Linked DNA regions of Homo sapiens: all the other regions are linked to region 4. Evidence: promoter capture Hi-C in human tissues and cell types (Jung and others, 2019). All regions are on one chromosome and are shown on one strand. Each heading gives the region's core, a stretch centred on a gene start or on the middle of the fragment in contact. The rest is flanking DNA. Distances are from core to core; before and after follow the strand shown. Region 1 has its middle 51 kb from the start of ZNF93. Region 2 holds the start of ZNF93 (zinc finger protein 93). Region 3 has its middle 4.1 kb from the start of ZNF90. Region 4 holds the start of GMIP (GEM interacting protein).

Region 1 (5,374 bases), core at 911-3,410, 310 kb before region 4:
GGAATTTTCAAACACTTACTTTCAAAAACAAAGTGAATAACTCTGACATGGAAATTAAAGCTTGAACCTAGTGATTCCAAGCTAAGGCTAATATTAAGCCTGCAACAGAGGGTTGTTTGTTTTGTTTTGTTTTTTGTTTTTGGTGTGTGTGTGTGTGTGTGTGTGTGTGTGTGTGTGTCTGTGCACCCAGGCTGGAGTGCAATGGTGTGATCTGGCTCACCACAGCCTCTGCCTCCCAGGTTAAAGCAATTCTCCTACTTCAACCTCTGGAGTAGCTGGAATTACAGGCATGCACCATCACGCCCGGCTAATTTTGTGTTTTTAGTAGAGACGGGATTTGTCCATGTTGGTCAGGCTGGTCTCGAACTCCCGACCTTAGGTGATCCGCCCACCTCGACCTCCCAAAGTGCTGTGATTACAGGCATGAGCCACCGAGCCCGGCCAACAGAAGGTTATTAAAGGCCCAGTTACTTTTTTCTGGGGAGTCTCCACTGCAGATGTCCCAGCCTGCTCACCCCAGCCATGGAAGGATCCTTTATTCTGAGAGAAGCTACAGAGCCCTGGAAAGCTGGGGCCCCACAGGCAGATGCAGTTAAGATTAAGGTGAAAGGAAACTGGGAGGTTCTTACTGATGATGAAGTTGTTACTGTTTTGAGGCATTTTTTAGACTGTGTAAAATAAAAATGTTAGATTTATGTAAAAAAAATTCCAAAAAATTATTGCAACAGGAGGAAGTACCAACTAACTATAAGGAAGGTCTTTGTGGCTTGCAAAGATGTAGGCTGAAAAGGGCTTTCTTTCCTAGGGAGGAGCAAACAAGATTAGAAAGTAGGTGGGAGGGGAATGGCAAATGGAGGGTGAAAAAGTCAGATTTTAGATCAGAGAATGTGTTACCCTGAAATCAGCATGCTCTTAGGAGGGACATAAAATGGGGTTGTATGTTGACTCAGACTGAGGGTAGCTCAAAGTTCAGGAGCCTAAGGGAGGGATATAAGCTTAAATTTGATTAAGAAATATTTTATTTTAGGCCAAGTGAGGTGGCTCATGCCTGTAATCCCAGCACTTTGGGAGGCCAAGGCAGGCGGATCACCTGAGGTCAGGAGTTCGAGACCAGCCTGGCCAATATGGTGAAACCTTGTGTCTACTAAAAACACAAAAATTAGCCAGGTGTCACAGTGGGCACCTGTAATCCCAGATGCTCGGGAGGCTGAGGAAGGAGAATTGGTTGAACCCAGGAGGCAGCCATTGCAGTGAGCCGAGATCAAGCCACTGTACTCCAGCCTAGGCAACAAAGCGAGACTCCATTAAAAAAAAATAATAATTTTGATCACTGAAGACAAATTCAGCTGATTTTTCTAATGAGAAAAAGGAGAAAATCTGCAGAGTGTGTGTCTGGCTGTGTGATAGGTAAAACAGAGGACTATCTAAGTCATAATGGGAAGAGTGTTTCTTTCCATAAACTGTTCCTGGAGCACACAAAGGATGGAGAATTTTATTAATCACAAATATTTTCCAGGATTATCTATGTGTTTCATCTTCCCCCATCTCTTTTCTTTGTTCTATGCATTTCTTCCACTTGGCTTTTCCTGGGCTGCATCTTATATATTAAAACAGTAAACATAACTACAGTGTTTTCCTGAGTTCTGCGAGTAGCTCTACCAAATTATTGAACTTCAGGGAGGCGATGGGAGTCCCCAGTTTTTAAATAGTGGCTCCGAAGCATAGATGGGCCTGTGGGGTTTGTGGCTGGCATCTGCAGTGAGGACAGTGTTGTGGGACCGAGCCCTGAATCAGGGTCTGTGCTGACTCTGGGTGGTGTCAGAATTCAAATGTTAGACAATGAGTTGGTGTTGGAGGATAGTTTGATGTTCAGCAAACTACAGATTTGGTGCCAGAAAAAAAGATATTATGGAGGCCTGGCCTGGAGTAAAACTCTGGGTTTCTGGAAATGGGAGGCTCTGCTCTCCTGTACACAGGCTGTCACACTGCCCATTTTCCTGTGATTCCAGGTCTTCTCCCAGGGTGACAGAAGACTGAAAACTTAGAGAAAAGGACCTCTAAGAACAGACACCCCTGTCTTGCATCTGCCACCACAGGATTTCCACCCACTCACAAACACACACACACTAGACATTGATGTGTCCACACTCCTCCCAGGACTAGGCACCACCCTCAGGAACTTCACCACTGCATTTTTGATCCTAGTGTTTCTTGCCAAGAACCCACAAGTGTCTACAAGTCTTCTGGCATATCCCCACCCTCAGACACTGAATCTGCAGCAGCAACTTGTTTTCTCCACCAACCTAAGCTTCTGGGCCACCTGTTCATGATCTCATCTGCCTGCATTCACACAGAAATAAATCAGTACAGCCCCACCTGGGCCACTATCTGTAGTGAAAATCAGTCCTTTCAGCTACATTGCACTCTGCCATCCAGGGATATTTTTTCTTTTAGCTTTTATTTTTGGTTCGGGATATACATGTGTCTTTGTTTTACAGCTAAAATTATGTCATGGGGGTTTGGTGTGCAGATTATTTTGTCACTGAGGTACTACCCGTAGCACCAAACAGGTCTGTTTTCTCATCCTCTTAGTCCTCCCACCCTCCACCCTCATCTAGGCCTCAGTGTCTGTTGTTCTTCTCTTTGTGTTCATGTGTTCTTATTATTTAGCTATTACTTATAAATAATAACATGCATTTGGTTTTCTGTTTCTGTATTAGTTTTCTCTTTTTTTGTTGTTTTTTGTTTTGTTTTTTGAGATGGAGTTTTACTCTTTTTGCCCAGACTGGAGTGCAATGGTGCAATCTTGGCTCACTGCAACCTTCGTCTCCCAGGTTCAAGCGATTCTCCTGCCTCAGCCTCCCTAGTAGCTGGGATTAGAGGTGCATGCCACCATGCCCTGCTAATTTTGTATTTTTAGTAGTGATGGGCTTTTTCCATGTTGGTCAGGCTGGTCTCAAACTCCCGACTGCAGGTGATTTGCCCACCTCCCTCCCAAAGCGCTGGGATTACAGGCACAAGCCACCATGCCCAGGCTCTCCGTTAGTTTTCTAAGAATAGTGGTCTCCAGGTTCACTGATGTTTTTGCAAAGGACATGATCACTTTTTTTAATGGCCACAGAGTATTCCACGATGTTTATGTACCATATTTTGTTTTTACTAAATCTTTTATTTTATTTTATTTTTGGAGACAGGGTCACACTTATGGCCCAGGCTAGAGTGTCATAGCATGATATTGGCTTACTTTAGCCTCAACCTCCCAGGCTCAAGCAATTGTCTCCTACCTCATCCTCCTAAGTACTTGGTGTGGGGGGACTACACATGTGCTTTACCACACCTGGCCAATTTCTATTTTTGTATTTTGCATGGAGACAGGATTTTGCCCTGTTGCCCAGGCTGGTCTCAAACTTCTAAGCTCAGGCAATCCACCTGCCTCAGCCTCCCAGAGTGCTGGGATTACAGGCATGAGCCACCGCGTCTGACCATACCGTGTTTCCTTTATCCATTGATAGGCATTTAGGGCCTGTCCATGTCTTTGCTATTGTGAATAGGGAATCAACTGTATTGTTCTTTTTGAGTGGGTATGTATTGTAGCTGGAACAGGGAGTTCCTGGTTTGAAAGGACAATGTTAATGTTGGGAGTAAGGCAGACTAGGGCGCAAGTGCCTGTCCAGTTAGTAAGGAGACAGAAGTATGTTGTGGACCCGCAGAGAAAGAAGATGCCTGAGGTATTTATGCAAACAGACAGGTGGATTGAGAGTAGGTGTTGCAGTTTGTAGGTTCCCCACTTGGAGGGACTTGGCTCAGCTTCAGCAACCCAGAGTGAGAAAGAGACAGAAACCCCTTTGAGCACTCCTGTCCAAGGAAGGGGTTTCCATGTTTGAGAGGTGGGAGGGAGGAAATGCAGAAGGGCTGAGTAAAGAGACCGTTGACTTCAGGGGAGACTGAATAATCCACTCAGAGTGAGATATGGGAGGAAGGGTGAGAGATGGTTCGGGTTGAGTTACAGGCAGAGGGAAGGAGGGTGCCTACGTGTACGTGTCCATTGGAAGAGGTGATGCATAAGGGGGCTTGGCCAAGTCTTGTGGTATGGAGAGTTATGAGACCTTGGATGGTGGGGTATGGGAGTTTTGAGTCATCATAGTTGGCAATATAGATTGAAGAGGAGCTTGGTAGCTCTGTCAGTGAGGGCAGTGGGATAGTTTCCAGTGAGAGTGAGGGCTCTGTCTACAAAGGCAGGTCCCTTTTGGATGTTGTAAGAGAAGTGAATGGGAAAATGGTCTCAGGGCTAAGAAATTGGGATAGCTGAGTAGGCAGTAGAGGAAAGGCAAAAATAGGTCCAGAAACTGGAAGCAAATGTTGAATTGGAGCACAGTAACAAAAAGTGAGTGAGGTTGAGAGATCATTCGAGACTTGTAGAAGTGAGAAGGGACCCTGAGGAGGTAGAGGCCATGGGGCTGGCTGTCAAAAGAATTAGGAATCTGAGGAAGAATCAGAATCTGTTGTTGGAGAGAGGAGCTGGTAGGATCCATACAGGGAGGTGGCTTCTTCTAGGGGGTCTATGAGGTGGCTGATAGCGTCCCATGGATGGTCAAATTCTCCTTGCAGATGGGCAAGGTATAGGTGGGTTAAGACTTTTCCTCATGTGGAAATGGGGAGAGAAGAGAGGGATTCTAATATTTGGTATGCTGTAGGGTGAGGCTGTTCCTTGTCACGAGGACCTTGGCATCTGTAGCAGGGGCAGAAGTGATATGTAAAAGAGTTACCGCTCGTGGGCCTTCTTCAGGGATGGGCGTCAGGCAGAGTTTGGTTGGACAAAGGAGGGTGCTGGAGGATTGGTGGAGGACAGTCTGTGGTTCAGTAGGCACTGCAGGAGCCCTTTTTACTCTGGAAAGATGGTACCAAGAGGCATGTCCTGAGTTTGGCTGCAGTGGGGGTTGTAAGGATAATTTGAAAAGGGCCTTCCCACCTTGGTTTTAGCCTTGTTGGGTTAAGAGTTTTTAGGAAGACATACTTTCCTGGTAGGAGAGTCCAGTCAGTGGGGCCTTTGTGGGGTTTTGGGAGGGCTTGATCATTCACAGAGGAGATGACGGATAAGGGAGAAGGTTGGGAGATATTCTCCTAGCTGGGAGTCGAGAGGAGGCCTGTTTTGTAAGAGGAAAGGGCGTCCATACATTAACTCAAATGGGCTAAGGAAGAAGGGTGATTTCGGACTTGCTCTGATGCAGGCCAGTGCTATGGGCAAAAGGGAGGTCCATGGTTTTTGGACTTTAAGCTTGAGTTTGGTTAACTGAGCCTGAAGGATCCCATTTGCCCTTCTGACTTTTCTGGATGACTGGGGCCATTATGGGATACGGAAGCACCTCTGGACGCC
Region 2 (5,450 bases), core at 38-2,537, 260 kb before region 4:
TAGCTTGGAGTCACTAGGCTCAAGCTTTGTCATGTCAGAGTTATTCACTTGGTTTTTGAAACTCAGTGTTTGAAAAATCCGTGAAATTACTCAAACACAGTATTTACATAAGGGAAGGAAATTTTAAGATGTCTATTTTTTTTTTAAGACGGAGTCTCACTTTGTCACCAAGGCTGGAGTACAATGGCAAGCTCTCGGCTCACTGCACCTCGCCTCCCAGGTTCAAGCAATTCTCGTGCGTCAGCCTCCCAAGTAGCTGGGATTACAGACGCCTGCCACCAATCCCGGCTAATTTTTGTATTTTTAGTAGAGACGGGGTTTCACTATGTTGGCCAGGCTGGCCTAGAACTCCTGACCTTGTGATCCACCCGCCACGGCCTCACAAAGTGCTGGGATTACAGGCATCAGCCACCGCGCTGGGCCAGGAAGGGGATTTAACCCTAACGCAGTTCCGGTTTTTGTGTCCTTCCCATATTGGCTGAGGTCCCACCGCACAATCTAAGCTGATCCTGGTTGGGCTAGACACAAACTTTTTCCATATAGGGTAAACGCGCGATGTTTTGAGAAAAGGAGAATGGGGAAAAAGAAGGGGTAGGGTTGATTTACAATTTTTACAACTTATGACCAGGAAGTTGAGTCTCTGAAGAGGAACTTAGCTGCCCTAACAACTCCTCAAGTGATCCGCCCGCCTCGGCCTCCCAAACTGCTGCGATTACAGGAGTGAGCCACCTTGCCCAGCCCCATAAATTTTTAATAGGAGAAAAGAGAAACTGTGAACCCAACCCACTAAAGCTCTTCCCATTCGTGAACCCGCACTCCGAGTCAGGATTCTCCCCTGACGACTCTCCCGTGGTCTCTGCACAATCTGGGAGAGAAGCGGCTCTGCGGGTGCGCAGCTGCCCAGCGAGGGCTCCAAGCCAGGGCACAGTCACCGCACAGTGAAGAGACAGGACGCCTGGGGGCTGCGCTATAAGCGCAGCCGCCATCTTATGGCTGAAGGGAACCGAGGCCGAGCTGGGCAAGAACTCCGGCGCAGATTGTGGAGCTGACTAAGGGGATACCTGAGTCCCGCCACCGTCACTTTCCACCGGTTCCAACCAGCCCCTCCCCGTCGCTTGGGATGTCGGACCGGCACTCTCACCATTTCTAGGCTTCCAGGGGTCCTGGTGTCTTAGCTGTGGATCTCCCAATACCTGCAGGTCACAGGGCCACAGAGGCTGGGCCTGTAGGAGCACAGGACACAGAGTAGTGAAGAGGAGACCTGGAGCTCCGGCTGCACCGAGAGACAAAGGACCCGCCAAACCAGAAGCCGCCCTGTTCGGTCCGGCTGCTTGCCTGATTGGACGTTTCCAGCCCAGCGTCCCTGATTGGATAATTCTTAAGGTCCCGCCCCCTCAGGACCTGAGTGACAGAAGATGTGATCACATGCTGGGCTGAGTGAAGAAGAGTAACAGCCTAAGCTGCAGCCTTTTCAGCCAGGGCTTCCTCTCTGAGCTGAGCCACGTCCACCCCAGAGCATGGGAACATTCTCTTTTTTACTCTCTCTTTTTGAATGTATTGAAAAGGTGAACAGAAGTATTTCGTTGTCATATTAATAATACCGTTGGAAGTAAAGTGTTTGGTGTCGCAAAGTGAAACCAGTACTCAGGCAAAAGTTTTTTTAGTAAGGCAATTTACTTCTGCAAAAGGTTTTTGTTTGCATTAATCACGATCGCAAGAGCACCCTGAACAAAGGAGGGAAGGGGTTTTTATTTTTAACGTAAAGTCTCTTCCTCTGTGTTACTCCCCCATGGGCTAGGGTCGGACCCCACAATCTAAACTGACCCGATTGGCTATTTGTAAATATTTTTCCAAATAAGGAAGGGAAGGGGCATGTATAAGTCACAGTGGTGGGACGTGTGGTTTTGAAGGGTGGGAAGGCTGCAGAGTGAGTAATCAAGGGAACAGATGTGAATTATTGATTAGAGCTGTTGGGAAGGAAGGTTGTTACAGTAACTAGGGGCAAGGAGGCATGGAGAACAAGCAAGTTGAGTTTGAGAACAAAGAACAAGAAAGTTAAGACTAAACCTTTGAAGAGGAATTTTATTGTATTTTACAATTTCCCCCTTTTAATTTTTATAATTAAAAAAAAACCTTTTTTTTTGAGATGGAGTTTTTGCTCTTGCTGCCTAGGCTGGAGTGCAATGGCACGATTTTGGCTCACTACAACATTTGCCTCCCAGGTTCAAGCAATTCTCCTGCCTCAGCCTCCCGAGTAGCTGGGAGTACAGGCATGTGCCACCACGACCAGCTAATTTTGTGTCTTTAGTATAGATGGGGCTTCTTCATATTGGTCAGGCTGGTCTCTAACTTCTGACCTCGGGTGATCCGCCCGCATCAGCCTCTCAAAGTGCTGGGATTACAGGCGTGAGCCACTGCGACCACACGCTTTTTAAAACTTTTTAAACATACCTTTACTTTGTTGTTTGACTTGATCTTTTAAAAGGAAAAGTTTATCTGAATAAGGTGGAGGAGAACTAAGGGAGGTTTTCGTAAGTGTCGTTTTTATAAGTCTTTGTACTAGCCCACAGATGCATGGTATGACACAACACCCAACAAGAATTAGTACACCTATTACAACTATAAGAGAAGTAAGAATTGAGGCTATGACTTTTTTTCGTTTACTGAACCACCTCTCTAGCCATTCTGAAAACGTGTTATTGACCCCAGAATTTTTAGCTAATTCATTGGATAAAGTGGTAAGTTCGTGTAAGGCCCTTCTTATGTTCCTATTGGGGGCAGTATTGTTTGGGATGAAGGTACAACATTTGAGTTTTAATCATAACACAAACTCCACCTTTTTCAGCTAATATTATGTCCAGGGCCATTTTGTTTTTCTAAGTTATCTGGCTAGTAGGCCTTAATTGGTTGGCTATTTCTTTGACAGCATTTCTGGTGTAATTAATAAACTAATATTGATTATAATAGATGTGATTTATCTATCTAATCTACATTTTTATTAATAGTTACCCGTGGAAATATTGATTTAAATCCTGCAGCTATTTGATCTTGGGCTTTGAATTCATCAGGTACCACCCGTGGGACTCCAGTTGTGTCTAAATAAACTTGAAAGTCAAAAGACACATAAGGGGCTTCTCTTATTTTACAGTGTTGTGGTTTTTCTTTTTCTAGTCGATGAAATGCCAGAGTGAAAGGGATAGCCAACTGGACAACAGTGCAAGTGCCGTTCCAGTTACTTGGCAGAGTGTCCAGTAAGGGTCCACCACAATACCACCATATATTTGCTCAAAGATGAACAAGGGAAGACTGACTGGTAAGATCTTGGAAAGGCTTAAGCTCACTGTATCCCATTAAGTCTCCAAGAAATGCCAAGTTTTCCCCTTGTCGTGAGAGACACGAGGTAAAATTGACGCTAGGAGATGGAGGCTGGATGGCTCTTGGGGCCTGACCCACAGGGTGTTGGACTTTAAGAAATAGCAGAGAGAGAGCTCAGCAGGATTTATTACCCTAGGCTGTGGGGTCTTGGAAAAGAGCTACTATACAGTTTATGCCTGGTCAACTAGAAGACCATCTGAGTGGGAAAGGGACAATTTGGGCCTCTGGCTGGCCGCGTGCACAAGCATAACAATTGCTTTTGCTTAATGTGTGCACAGAATATTTGATCCATTTTAACCAGGCATTTGTATCTTGGTATCTTGTTTTAATTGTTAAAGTTTGCCTTAAATTAGTTACTTTTACAATATCTATTTTAGTCTTATCACTGGGCATAGAAGATATGACAGTCTGGTTAGAAAAGAGCTTAGAAGAGAGGGGAGTGAAGAGCATGAGGGATGATTAGACGCATTTTGAAAGACCCTATGAGATTTGTGCCAGCCAAGTTGGGTCTTATGCCATAGAAGCAGCTCAAATCAAAGTGGGGTTAGGATCCATAGAAGTGGGGGTGAGAATAGAAATTTGCACCAGATTACATTGGTTAAACTGGCAATTGGAAGGAGTGTTTCCTTTAGCAAAGCAAATATATGGCTTTAAGGACATACAACCACTTGTTGATGAGGTCCAGCCCTGATATTCGATTGTTTATAAAACATCATTCCAGCTGTGGCAGGCCTGTTTTTTTTACATTTGTTAAAGAACAGGAGTCGTGTTAGGGGGAGCCTCTTGTCCAAAAGTGACAGAGATATTTCTCTGAGGCTGAGAGCTGTTTTTGACTCTGGAGATTTTCACAGGGCATAATGAGGCAAGCACTAAAGGAAATAGTTTGGGGTGAGCCCAACCTAGTTACATTAATAACGAGAGGATTAGCAATAGAAGGGGAAAAGGAGAAGGAGTAACAGAACAGATGGAAGATAGGTAAATTTTCTTAGCTTTAGTTTGGAAGGGTTCTCCCCTGGAACTATGGCCCATGATTCTGGAGAGGGTGTAGCAGGACGAGCCACAGACAAAACTCCTCAGACACCGAGTTAAAGAAGGAAGGGGTTTATTCAGCCAGGGGCATTGGCAAGACTCCTGTCTCAAGAGCTGAGCTCCCCAAGTGAGCAATTCCTGTCCCTTTTAAAGGTTCACAACTCTAAGGGGATGTGTGTGAGAGGGTCATGATTGATTGAGCAAGCAGGGGGTACATGACTGGGGGCTGCATGCACCGGTAGTTAGATTAGAACAAAACAGGATAGGGATTTTCACAGTGCATTTCTATACAATGTCTGTAATCTGTAGATAACATAACCGATTAGGTCAGGGGTTGATCTTTAACTACCAGGCCCAGGGTGTGGCGCTGGGCTGTCTGCTTGTGGATTTCATTTCTGCCTTTTAGTTTTTACTTTTTCTTTCTTTGGAAGCAGAAATTGGGCATAAGACAATATGAGGGGTGGTCTCCTCCCTTATTCCCCCACTTTGAGACTCTCAATAGTGGGAGTTCTCACTTTTATTTTTACTACCTATGTTTTCTTGCAAGACAGATCGATAGTGATTCATATATTACACTTGTGCTGAAGCATTTTGGTGAACCAAGGTAACAATGAAGCTTTTTATCATCTGAAGAAGTACAGGTAGCAAACAAGGGAGCAGTAAGCAGATTCCTATTACTATTATAACTTTTATTATAAGAGTTTTAAATCCTCTTAGCGCTGGGAACCATTTTCTAAACATGGCCCCAGGATCAAATCCATGCCACACTTGCATGGGCACGTGTGCCAGTTTTGTCATATCTCTAACTATGTCTTCAACAACTGGCCCTTGATTATCTATGTGTAGGCAGCAATTAGTAAGGTTAAATTTCCTGCAGACCCCTCATTCAGCTGCTGGCAAGTAGTCGAGGGCTAATCTATTTTGATATATAGCATTTCTCATCTGAGTTTCTTGCCAGGCCAGAATAGTCAAGGCTCTGCTGGTTTTATTAGTGATTATTTTTAAGACAGCTTGTAACCATATGATTCGGTTGATCATGTAAATGG
Region 3 (5,417 bases), core at 2,710-5,209, 430 kb before region 4:
AATCACAAAAACAAGTTGACCTTTCTGTGTTCCTTGAGACCAGTCATGAAGGGCCCTGGTGACTAGGCCTCATGCTGAACAACTCGTTACAAAAAGAGCTAGGTTCCCAGACCGCGCAGAAGCGTCATTATACCTCTCCTGGTCTGTGCACCGATGGGTGGCCAACTCTGGAGCCCATCCTGTTGCTTTCCGGTCTGGTGGTGAATCCTCCATAGTCTGGTGTGGAGTCAAAGTTAAATAATAAATTTGTGCTAATTGAACGTGGACACAAACAATGGTCACCAAGTCCGGGAACAGGTTGTGTGAGCCCCTAGAGGCGTTCATCCAGCGCTGTTTCAGAGAAATCTGTATTTCAATCTATTCCTATACATTCGTTCTTGAAAAACAACAGACAATCCCAAAAACAAGTGACCTTTTTGTGTTTCTTCAGCTCAGTCGCGAAGGGTCCTCATGACTAAGCCTCGTGCCAAACAACTCATTACAAAAGAGCTAGGGTCCCAGACTGCGCCAAAGCTTCGTGACAGCTCTCCTCACCTGTGCACAATTGTTAGCTTGCTATTGGACTTTACTGGAAACAAAACACCTCTGCTTTAACCATGATGTCTTTATGAGGCCTAAATTTCCTGTTATGATTTAGGTCACGAGTTCCCTCAAAATCCACAGGAGGCCAAGATGTGTGGATCACGAGGTCAGAAGTTTGAGACCAGGCTGGCCAACATGATGAAACCCCATCTCTACTAAAAATACAAAAACTAGCCAGGTGTGGTGGCATGCATCTATAATCCCAGCTACTCAGGGGGCTGAGGCAGGAGAATCACTGGAATCCCAGGAGGCAGAGGTTGCAATGAGCTGAGGTCTCACCACTGCACTCCAGCCTATGTGACAGACTGAGACTCCATCTCAAAAACAAACAACCGAAAAACATAACCATTTCTGATGAAGAAAGGGGTGGGAGCAGCCAGTTAACTGAACTAGTAGACATCCTCTGAGCTCTTCGAAAGGAAGGAAGAAGGATTTGTCACTTGTATACCAACTCTTGCTCAGTAGCAAATGGTCTTACTACCTGGATGCCCCAATGACAACAAAACAAATGGTTAATTGGGAATAAAGAGGTATGGGGAAAACAATACTGGGAAGATACATGAATTCTGGTACACACTACCATTATCATTGTTTTCCTGTATTAATTAATTTATTTTTTTTGACACGGAGTCTAGCTCTGTCACCAGGCTGGAGTACAGTGGCTCAGTCTCGGGTCACCAGGCTTGAGTGCAGTGGCTGAGTCTCAGCTCACTGCAACCTCTGCCTCCCAGGTTCAAGTGATTCTCCTGCCTCAGCCTCCCGAGTAGCTGGGATTACAGGCATGCACCGCCACGCCCAGCTAATTTTTGTACTTCTCTAGTAGAGGCGGGGTTTCACTGTGTTCACCAGGGTGGTCTCAATCTCCTGACCTCGTGAACAACCCACCTCAGCCTCCCAAATTGGTAGAAGTACAGGCTTGGGCCACCACTCCTGGATCTGTTTTCCATGATGATGCTCATGCATCTCTGCTTTTCTTGACAGACTATTTAATCAGCAGGAAGATCGACAGGCCAAAATTTCCACCATAAATGCAAATTTGAATGTGGATGAATGGATTACAATGTGTTCAAGCCTTGCAATGAGAGGCATTATAGTGTTTGGTGGTATAATTGATGGTGATTACTGGGGAGAGTTAAAGGTTGTTTTATACAATACCACTCCAGATTCTTTTGCTATAAAACCACAAATGTGGGTTGCTCAATTATTAGTGGTACCTTGTCAACAATTAACCCCTGAGGAAATCTCTGTCCCAACAGAGGCTACATACAGAACTCGGGGATTCAGATCCACTGGTTCATGTAGCTTAAATCCTGGAGCCAATATATGGGTACAGCATCCATCAGATCCCACCCCTAAGTCTGGTGACCTTGTAGCTGTGAAAACAGAAAATGAAGGCATAGTACAATTTCCTAAAGATGAAAAACAATATGATGTTCCTATCCTTTTTTGTTATTACAGGGAATAATCTATCTACTAATGGTCAGCACCTGTGTCTTTGTGTCTGAGGCCAAGAATAAATTCATGAACTGGGTAGCCACCGCTGCAATAGAAGCCAATCACAGACAATGTTTTCTATACGTCGAGTTGCCAAAGGCCGCCAGGAATGGGCTACCTTGGAGAATCATCCTGACAACATTTCTGAATGGCTATGTAGTTACCAACGGGGTCACAACAACACTTGTAGTCCAACCTGTACTTCCTTTGACCACACTAAGCAATCTATCTTTGCCCAAGTCAGACAAAAGGTGAACTCCACATTCTCCTTTCATCAAAAGCCTTGGTATCCTGCCCAATATTCCTGGAATGGTATATTTTGGAAACCAGCTGTGCTGGTGCCTGGATTCCCTATAGCCCCCGCTTAGTCTGGAGGCCTTAAAAGGTTCCTCTAATATTACTCTGGGGTTTCTCCAGACAATTGTCAACACATACTCCAAATCAACATTGCCCCCAGTGAACCACAATCTCTTTCCTACTTTAATAATACATGAGTACACTGTGATTACAGTAGCTCCATTGCTGTCCCCTGGGGGAGCCCTCTGGGTATGCAGATCCTATGAGTGGTGATACCTGTCCCCACACTGGACAGGGAGATGAACTTGGGGATAGCCATTAATTCCATTCACCATCCGGGTTAATATTCCTCTCCCAAGTAATTTAGATACTTACAAACATCACTGGTTATGAATGTGCCAGCCTCCCTGGCCTCCCTGGTGGCAGTACCCTATCACAGTATTCTCCCCTGCCACTGGTACAATCCTGCTTCAGCAACAAACTAAAATATTAAGGTTATATGTAGAAAAAGCTCTTAATGATATTAGCACTAGACTTATGTTGTTACCAGATAAATTTGCTCAGCTGAGTACTGTTGTGTTGCAAAATCAAATGGCATTAGATATGCTTACCGCAGCCCAAGGAGGGATTTGTGCCATATTGCATGCTAAATGTGGTGTGTATATCCCTGGCAATTCTCACAATATGACTCTCCTTAGAAAGCCATGCTGGGTGTGGTTTTTATTAATTGTGCTTTTAATTCTCCTGTCCTTACCCTGTATCTGTAATCTATATCGACTATGCCTTCCCTATGTATCTGTAAGGGTATTTTCCTACAATTGAGTATCCAATTGAGGCCAAAGGTGGAGAAAAAGTTAAATTTGAATTGAATTGAATGTGGACACAAACGATGGTCACCAAGCCTGAGAATAGGTTCTGCGAGCCCCTTGATGCATTCATCTAGAGTTGTTTCAGAGAAATCTCGATTTCAATCTATTCCTTTATATTGTTATTGAAAAACAATAGCCAATTGCAAAAACAAGTTAACTTTTTGTGTTCCTTGAGCCCAGTCTCAAGGGCCCTCCACTGTGCCTCATGCCAAACAACTTGTTACAAAATGACCTAGAGCCCCAGAACGCACTAAAGCTTAAAGAGACCTCTCCTTGTCCTTGCATGGATGGGTGGCTGACTCTGGAGCCCAGGTTGTTGCATTCCGGTGTGGCGATGAATCCTCCATAGTCTGGTGAGTGTATATATATGTACATATATTTATGTGTGTATGTATATATATATTTATATGTGTGTATATATATATATTTATGTGTGTGTGTGTGTATATATATATATCTTTTTCCTTCTCCCCTTTCCATTGCAATTTTCTTATATCAATTTACTTGGCCGGGCGCGGTGGCTCACGCTTGTAATCCCAGCACTTTGGGAGGCCAACGCGGTCGGATCAGGAGGTCAGGAGATCGAGACCACGGTGAAACCCCGTCTCTACTAAAAATACAAAAAATCAGCCGGGCATGGTGGCACGTGCCTGTGGTCCCAGCTACTCAGAACGTTGAGGCAGGAGAATGGCGTGAACCCGGGAGGTGGAGCTTGCAGTGAGCCGAGATCGCGCCACTGCACTCCAGCCTGGGTGACAGAGTGAGACTCCGTCTCAAAAAAAAAAAAAAAATTTACTTATATCTGCATTGCCATTTATGTGGGATAAAGCTTGTTTACCCTTAAAGGTATTGTGTAGGTGTCTTTTCTTCTACCCTCATGTGTTTCCTTCACAGAACACCATATTTGTCAGAGGCTTTCTTTGTTCCTTTTTATTCTTTTTTCTTTAATCTTGTCTGCATGCCTTATTTTGACAAGGTGGTCTTCAAATACTGATATTCTTTCTTCTGCTTGGTCAGTTCGGCTACTGATACTTTTGTATGCTTCATGAAGTTCTCGTGCTGTGTTTTTCAGCTCCATCAGATCATTTATGTTCCTCTCCAAACTTGTTATTATAGTTAGCAGTTCCTCTAACCTTTTTTTTTTTTTTTTTTTTTGAGACGGAGTCTTGCTCTTTCGCCCAGTCTGGAGTGCAGTGGCGTGATCTCAGCTCACTGCAAGCTCCGCCTCCCGGGTTCACGCCATTCTCCTGCCTCTGCCTCCCGAGTAGCTGGGACTACAGGCTCCCGCCACCATGCCTGGCTAATTTTTTTTGTATTTTTTAGTAGTGACGGGGTTTCACCTTGTTAGCCAGGATGGTCTCCATCTCCTGACCTCGTGATCCGCCCGCCTCGGCCTCCCGGAGTGCTGGGATTACAGGCGTGAGCCACCGCGCCCGGCTCCTCTAACCTTTTATCAAGGTTCTTAGCTTCTTTATATTGGGTTAGAACATGTTCCTTTGGCTCAGCAGAGTTTTTTTATTACCCATCTTCTGAAGCCTACTTCTGTCAATTCCTGCATCTCATCCTCTGTCCAGTTCTGTACCCTTGCTGAAGAAACATTTTGATCATTTGGAGAAGAGGCACTCTAGCCTCTCAATGTTTTTTTGTTGATTCTTTCTCATCTTCATGAGTTTGTCTAGTTTTGATCTTTGAGGCTGCTGACCCTTGGATTTTTTTGTTTTGTTTTGTTTTGTTTGAGACAGAGTCTTGCTCTGTCACCCAGGCTGGAGTGCAGTGGCAGGATCTTGGCTCCCTGCAACTTCCGCCTCCAAGGTTCAAGTGATTCTCATGTCTCAGACTCCCAAGTAGCTGGGACAACAGGCGTGCACCACCACGCCTGGCTAATTTTTGTATTTTTTTTAGTAGAGACCAGGTTTCACCACGTTGGCCAGGCTGGTCTCAAACTCTTGACCTCAAGTGCTCTGCCCGCCTCAACCTCCCAAAGTATTTGGATTATGGTGTGAGCCACCATGTGCAGCCTTGGGTGGGATTTTTCTGGGTATATTTTTTTCTTGTTGATGCTGTTGTTGCTGCTTTCTGTTTGTTTGTTTTTCATTCAGTGGTCAGGTCCCTCTTCTGTAGGGTTGCTGCACCTTGCTAGGGGTTCACCTCAGGCCCTATTCATCTGGTTCACTC
Region 4 (5,052 bases), core at 1,575-4,074:
GGAATCCCCCAGGATTTGGTGGTGGCTGTACACAAGGTCTCCCGGGAGGCAGGGGATGTTACTGCCTGCTGTGTGGGCAGGGTGGCCCCAAGTGAGCCAGATCCTGACTCCCCCACCCGCCTTGCTGCTGCAGCCCCTCAAGACCCTCTCCCGAGAACGGCCCCTGCCCAACATCTTCAACCTGTACACCATCCTCACCGTCATGCTCCAGTTCTTTGTGCACTTCCTGAGCCTTGTCTACCTGTACCGTGAGGCCCAGGCCCGGAGCCCCGAGAAGTAAGTGCTGCCTTGGAGGAGGTGATGTCCCTGCAGCTGAGAATAGCAGGAGGATGACTCCACAGACTTCAGCAGGAGAGGCTGGGGGTTGTCCAGGGTGTCCAGGGAGGGGCACTAGGCCAGGCAGAGCCCTAGCTCTGTGCCAGGGCAGCAGGAAGCCACACAGTGTGTGTGAGCCGGAGCAGGAGAGGGGGCCCTGACTCCCATGTGTCCTTGCAGGCAGGAGCAGTTCGTGGACTTGTACAAGGAGTTTGAGCCAAGCCTGGTCAACAGCACCGTCTACATCATGGCCATGGCCATGCAGATGGCCACCTTCGCCATCAATTACAAAGTAAGGCCTGGGCCCTGCCCAAACATTCACTGTCTGCCCACCCAGCCCCACCCCATGAAGCCATCTGTCCCTCATCCCCACAGGGCCCGCCCTTCATGGAGAGCCTGCCCGAGAACAAGCCCCTGGTGTGGAGTCTGGCAGTTTCACTCCTGGCCATCATTGGCCTGCTCCTCGGCTCCTCGCCCGACTTCAACAGCCAGTTTGGCCTCGTGGACATCCCTGTGGAGGTCAGTGGCCCTGTGGAGGTGACCCTGGGGCTCAGCTTGATGGGTCCCTCCTATGGCAGTGACCCTGAGCTGGGCTGCAGGTCTCCAGCTCACCATCCCTCCCTGCCCCGACAGTTCAAGCTGGTCATTGCCCAGGTCCTGCTCCTGGACTTCTGCCTGGCGCTCCTGGCCGACCGCGTCCTGCAGTTCTTCCTGGGGACCCCGAAGCTGAAAGTGCCTTCCTGAGATGGCAGTGCTGGTACCCACTGCCCACCCTGGCTGCCGCTGGGCGGGAACCCCAACAGGGCCCCGGGAGGGAACCCTGCCCCCAACCCCCCACAGCAAGGCTGTACAGTCTCGCCCTTGGAAGACTGAGCTGGGACCCCCACAGCCATCCGCTGGCTTGGCCAGCAGAACCAGCCCCAAGCCAGCACCTTTGGTAAATAAAGCAGCATCTGAGATTTTAAAAAGCCCTGCCTCCACCTCGTCTGTGCCACACGGTGTTTGCTGGGGGCTCGGGGACAGAGGGTCACTGAGGAAGGTCCCAGCACCCTCCCCACAGGCGTGTGATGTTGGTGAAACCCTCTGGCACTTTCAGCACTTGAACATGGACTTGTCCCTGCCCAGAGAATTCAGTGCATATTTTCTAGTTTAACAAGCACCCCCATATTTCTGAGGTCTCTTTCACATTTTAACAACTCAGGTGCTGAGAGAAGCCTTAGGATGTGTGATATTTTTTTCTTTCCCATAATACATAACAGCATGCCTTTCTCTCGGGTGGTGTCTGAGACTTGAGGAATATGATCTGCATCATTACAAGTATTGACTCTGTCCGGTGGCTCAAGCCTGTAATCCCAGCACTTTGGGAGGCCAAGGCGGGCCCATCACAAGGTCAGGAGATCGAGACCATCCTGGCTAACACAGTGAAACCCCATCTCTACTAAAAATACAAAAAATTAGCCAGGCATGGTGGCGAGTGCCTGTAGTCCCAGTTACTCGGGAGGCTGAGGCAGGAGAATGGCGTGAACCCAGGAGGTGGAGCTTGCAGTGAGCCGAGATAACGCCACTGCACTCCAGCCTGGGCAACAGAGCGAGACTCCAACTCAAAAGAAAAACAAACAAGTACTGACTCTGTCATGCTCTTTGGGGGCCTGCGCTGCTCTACCATCTCATGTCACAGTCAGGGAGCTCTGGCTGAGCATCAGCCAGGATGTGACCTGGAAACCTGGCTTGGCTCTTAGGTTGATAGTGTTATTCCTTTCAATGGACTCACTCATCACAACTCAAGAACTGCAGAGTAGGCAGCACGGAGCCAGTCAGAGAATCCTTGCCTCCTTAACAGCCAAAGCCTTTGGACACAAAGTTATAAACATACTTTAAAGTCTATTTCCAGCCCCAAAATTCCACTGTGCTGGGGGTGGGAGCATTTTTATAACAGGCGGCTTGTGGCAACCCCAGAGCTGGTGCTTTTGGACAAACCTCCACTCCCTACCTAAAAGGGCTGCTCCCTGGTGTGCTGTAATTGGGGCCTTGAGCCTGATCCAGCTTTGAGGGTCACGGAAGGGGCGTCCCCCAGGCCAGGGGTTCTCCAGCCCGAGTATTAGAATTTTGGTTGGAATCGGACAGAATATCAGGCCTCCACCAGGGGGCGCCATGGCTCCAGCGAGGCCCAGGTGGTTTCAGGGCTCCGAGAGACAACCTGGGCAAGGGGATCACCAGGGTCGCGGGTTGTGGGAGCTCCTGGGAGAGGCCCCCCGGGACAGGTGGACTCTGCAACCATTCAGGGAGGAGGGGGCTGGGGCTCCGTGGGATTTGGGGTAGCACAAAGATCTGAGAGGGAACCTATGGCCCAGATGAAGTCTTAGGATGCCCAGGTCAGGGGCACTGCAGCCTCGAGTGGTCGCTCAGGGGGCCCTGGCCCGACCCAGTTTCAAGCGGCTCAGGTAGAGAAGGGCACTATCAAGGCTTCCGGGCTACGGGGGCGTGGTCTGATGCGGGGGCGTGGCCTCCGCTGGGCAGGGCGACGCGGAACCGAGGCGGCGGCGGCGGCTGCGGCGGCAGGAAATCGGGGCTCGGCCCCGCCGGCGCGCGACCCCATCCCCATCCCGGTCCCTGCAGAGCGATCCCCGGGCCCAGATATGGACGCAGCAGAGCCGGGTAGGGGGTCGGGGATCCGGGAGGGGCCTCCCCCGACCATCCCCTGCTTCCTACATTGAGGGCACACACTTGTCCCGCTCCGTCCTGAGAGCCAGGAGAGGAGTTCCTGAATGGGAAGGACCCAGGGATCCTCCATTGTGGGGAGCCCTGTGCCCGGATGGGTTCAGGACCCCAGCCCTTCACTCCCCCTCCCCCTTTTGATCCCTCACCCCAGACGCCTGGGGGAGGGGGCCCAGGAAGGGGAAGTGACTGCTTCTGCTTCTGATTTTTGTGATGGGGGCAGGGTGCCACGACTGCTGAGGGAGAGGGCAACGCGGTAGGATCCCCACAGGGCCCCTCTGTAGCCCTGGGGAGTCGGCAGTGCTGGTCTAGGCCCCTTAGGAGAGGGGGCAGGGGGGCAGCAGTAGAAATGTGGCGGGGTCCGACTTGGTGTTTCCGGCCGTCTTTGTGTCTGTGTTGTGTATGTGGAGTGTCATTCGGTCTTTATGTCCCTCACGGCTTCAGTCTCTCCATGTGTGTTTCTGCCCCAGGCTCTGCCTGGCTGTCCCTTGTGTATTTCCATCTGTCTAGCCCGTGGTTCCATTGTCAGACCGGCTTTCTTCTCGGGACAGCCTGGTTGCATCTGGGGCATCTGTTTTGTTGGTTTGCTTCTGGGTGCAGGCAGACCCAGGGAGTGGGTGTCTCTGTTCCCCGAGCAGCTGTCTCTGGTCTCTGGTGGTGTGTGAGTCCATCTGCCTGCCTCGAGTTGGCCCCAACCAAGCCCCCCCCAGCCCTCTCTTTCTCTCTCTCACTCTTCCCTTTCTCTTCCACCCCCTCCAAATGAGACTGGTTGAGGTGCCGTGGGTGGAGGGAGGCAGTGGTTAGCCCATGTATTACACTCCCCTCCCCTAGGACTCCCCCCAGGTCCTGAGGGCAGGAAGAGGTACAGTGACATCTTCCGGAGCCTGGACAACCTCGAAATCTCACTGGGGAACGTGTGAGTCTGAGCCTGGATCACCCCCAAATCCTGCCAAGATGCCCCAAGCCCCTAACCATTTAGGTGCCTTGCAGTCCCATTTGGAACCTGTAACATCTGGACCTACATACCTAATAACCAGAGAAGTCTAGGATGGGACCCTCCAAAATGCCTCGGTATCCTAAAAGTGTCCCCCTAAATAGACTGGAAATCCCCAAAGTGGTCCTAGAACCCCTACATATCCTTGTAACCCCTTAAAATATTTGCGATCCCTATAATCCCACTCTATGAACCTCAAAGTTATCTGGGGCCCTTCAGATGCTTTTTCAAGTCCTATTTAAAAAAAACTCACCTGATTCCCCCAAAACACCATTCTTCAGACCTCCCAGACACAAGAGATGCCACAGAGGTGATGTTTGCCACAAACAACCCTAAGGTCCCCAGCACCCCTTGGCAGGACAGACTGGGTGTAAGGTGGCATCCTGACACACCTTTATCCCCCAGGACCCTTGAGATGCTGGCTGGAGACCCTCTACTCTCAGAAGACCCAGAACCTGACAAGACCCCTACAGCCACTGTTGTGAGTGGGGAGTAGGGGAACAGGGAGGAAGACCTCAAGCAGAGGGGGCCTTAGGAAGGCCAGGCCCCTGCCCTGTTTGCTTCTGAATACTGTCTCCCTCCCGCACAGACCAACGAAGCCAGCTGTTGGAGCGGCCCCTCCCCAGAGGGTCCTGTACCCCTCACAGGTAGGGGGGTCTGGAGGCCAGGACAGTGGGGACAGACAGGAGTCTTTCCTTCAACAAATCACCACTGATCCCCTGTTCCATGCAAGGCATCGTTTAGGTTTTGGGAATATGGCAGTACACACAACAGATCTCAGTCCCAGCCCTCAGGGAGACCCCAGGCAGGGTGGAGGCTGAGGTAGGAGGATCACTTGAAGCCAGGAATTCGTGACCATGCTGGGCAACAGTAAGACACCATCCCTACCAAAAGAAAAAATATTTTTTTAATTAGCTGGGTGTGGTGGTGTGTGCCTGTAGTCCCAGCTACTTTGGAAGCTGAGGCTGGAGGACTGATTAAGCCCAGGACTTTGAGGCTGCAGTGAGATACGATTGTGCCACTGCACT

Evidence for each region. Contacts are between HindIII fragments. The study calls those that stand out against the background at their distance.
Region 1: a contact is called between a fragment that was not itself captured here and the fragment with the promoter of GMIP in region 4, in 1 of the 25 tissues and cell types used here (spleen).
Region 2: the fragment with the promoter of ZNF93 here is called in contact with the fragment with the promoter of GMIP in region 4 in 5 of the 25 tissues and cell types used here (adrenal gland, bladder, heart left ventricle and 2 more).
Region 3: a fragment that was not itself captured here is called in contact with the fragment with the promoter of GMIP in region 4 in 1 of the 25 tissues and cell types used here (heart left ventricle).

What each region holds. Positions count from the first base shown.
Region 1 is chr19:19,949,314-19,954,687 of GRCh38, reverse strand. It overlaps the pseudogene BNIP3P12. Among named protein-coding and RNA genes, the nearest start is that of ZNF93, 51 kb to the right of the region's middle. The HindIII fragment of the contact is 3,264 bases long and covers 529-3,792 here.
Region 2 is chr19:19,896,783-19,902,232 of GRCh38, reverse strand. ZNF93 (zinc finger protein 93) reads right to left here and starts at 1,287. Exons shown (of 4, transcript NM_031218.4): 1 at 1,142-1,287. The coding sequence starts at 1,144. RefSeq lists enhancers at 1-85, 634-1,183, 718-1,317. The HindIII fragment of the contact is 8,115 bases long and covers 1-5,450 here.
Region 3 is chr19:20,071,197-20,076,613 of GRCh38, reverse strand. No RefSeq gene overlaps it. Among named protein-coding and RNA genes, the nearest start is that of ZNF90, 4.1 kb to the left of the region's middle. The HindIII fragment of the contact is 3,905 bases long and covers 2,007-5,417 here.
Region 4 is chr19:19,641,429-19,646,480 of GRCh38, reverse strand. It overlaps GMIP (GEM interacting protein), which reads left to right and starts at 2,824. Exons shown (of 21, transcript NM_016573.4): 1 at 2,824-2,970; 2 at 3,862-3,946; 3 at 4,430-4,505; 4 at 4,614-4,671. The coding sequence starts at 2,952. ATP13A1 (ATPase 13A1) reads left to right here. Exons shown (of 26, transcript NM_020410.3): 23 at 134-276; 24 at 496-607; 25 at 691-834; 26 at 949-1,283. The coding sequence ends at 1,059. RefSeq lists a silencer at 2,731-2,980 and enhancers at 3,611-3,770, 2,992-3,947. The HindIII fragment of the contact is 23,421 bases long and covers 1-4,931 here.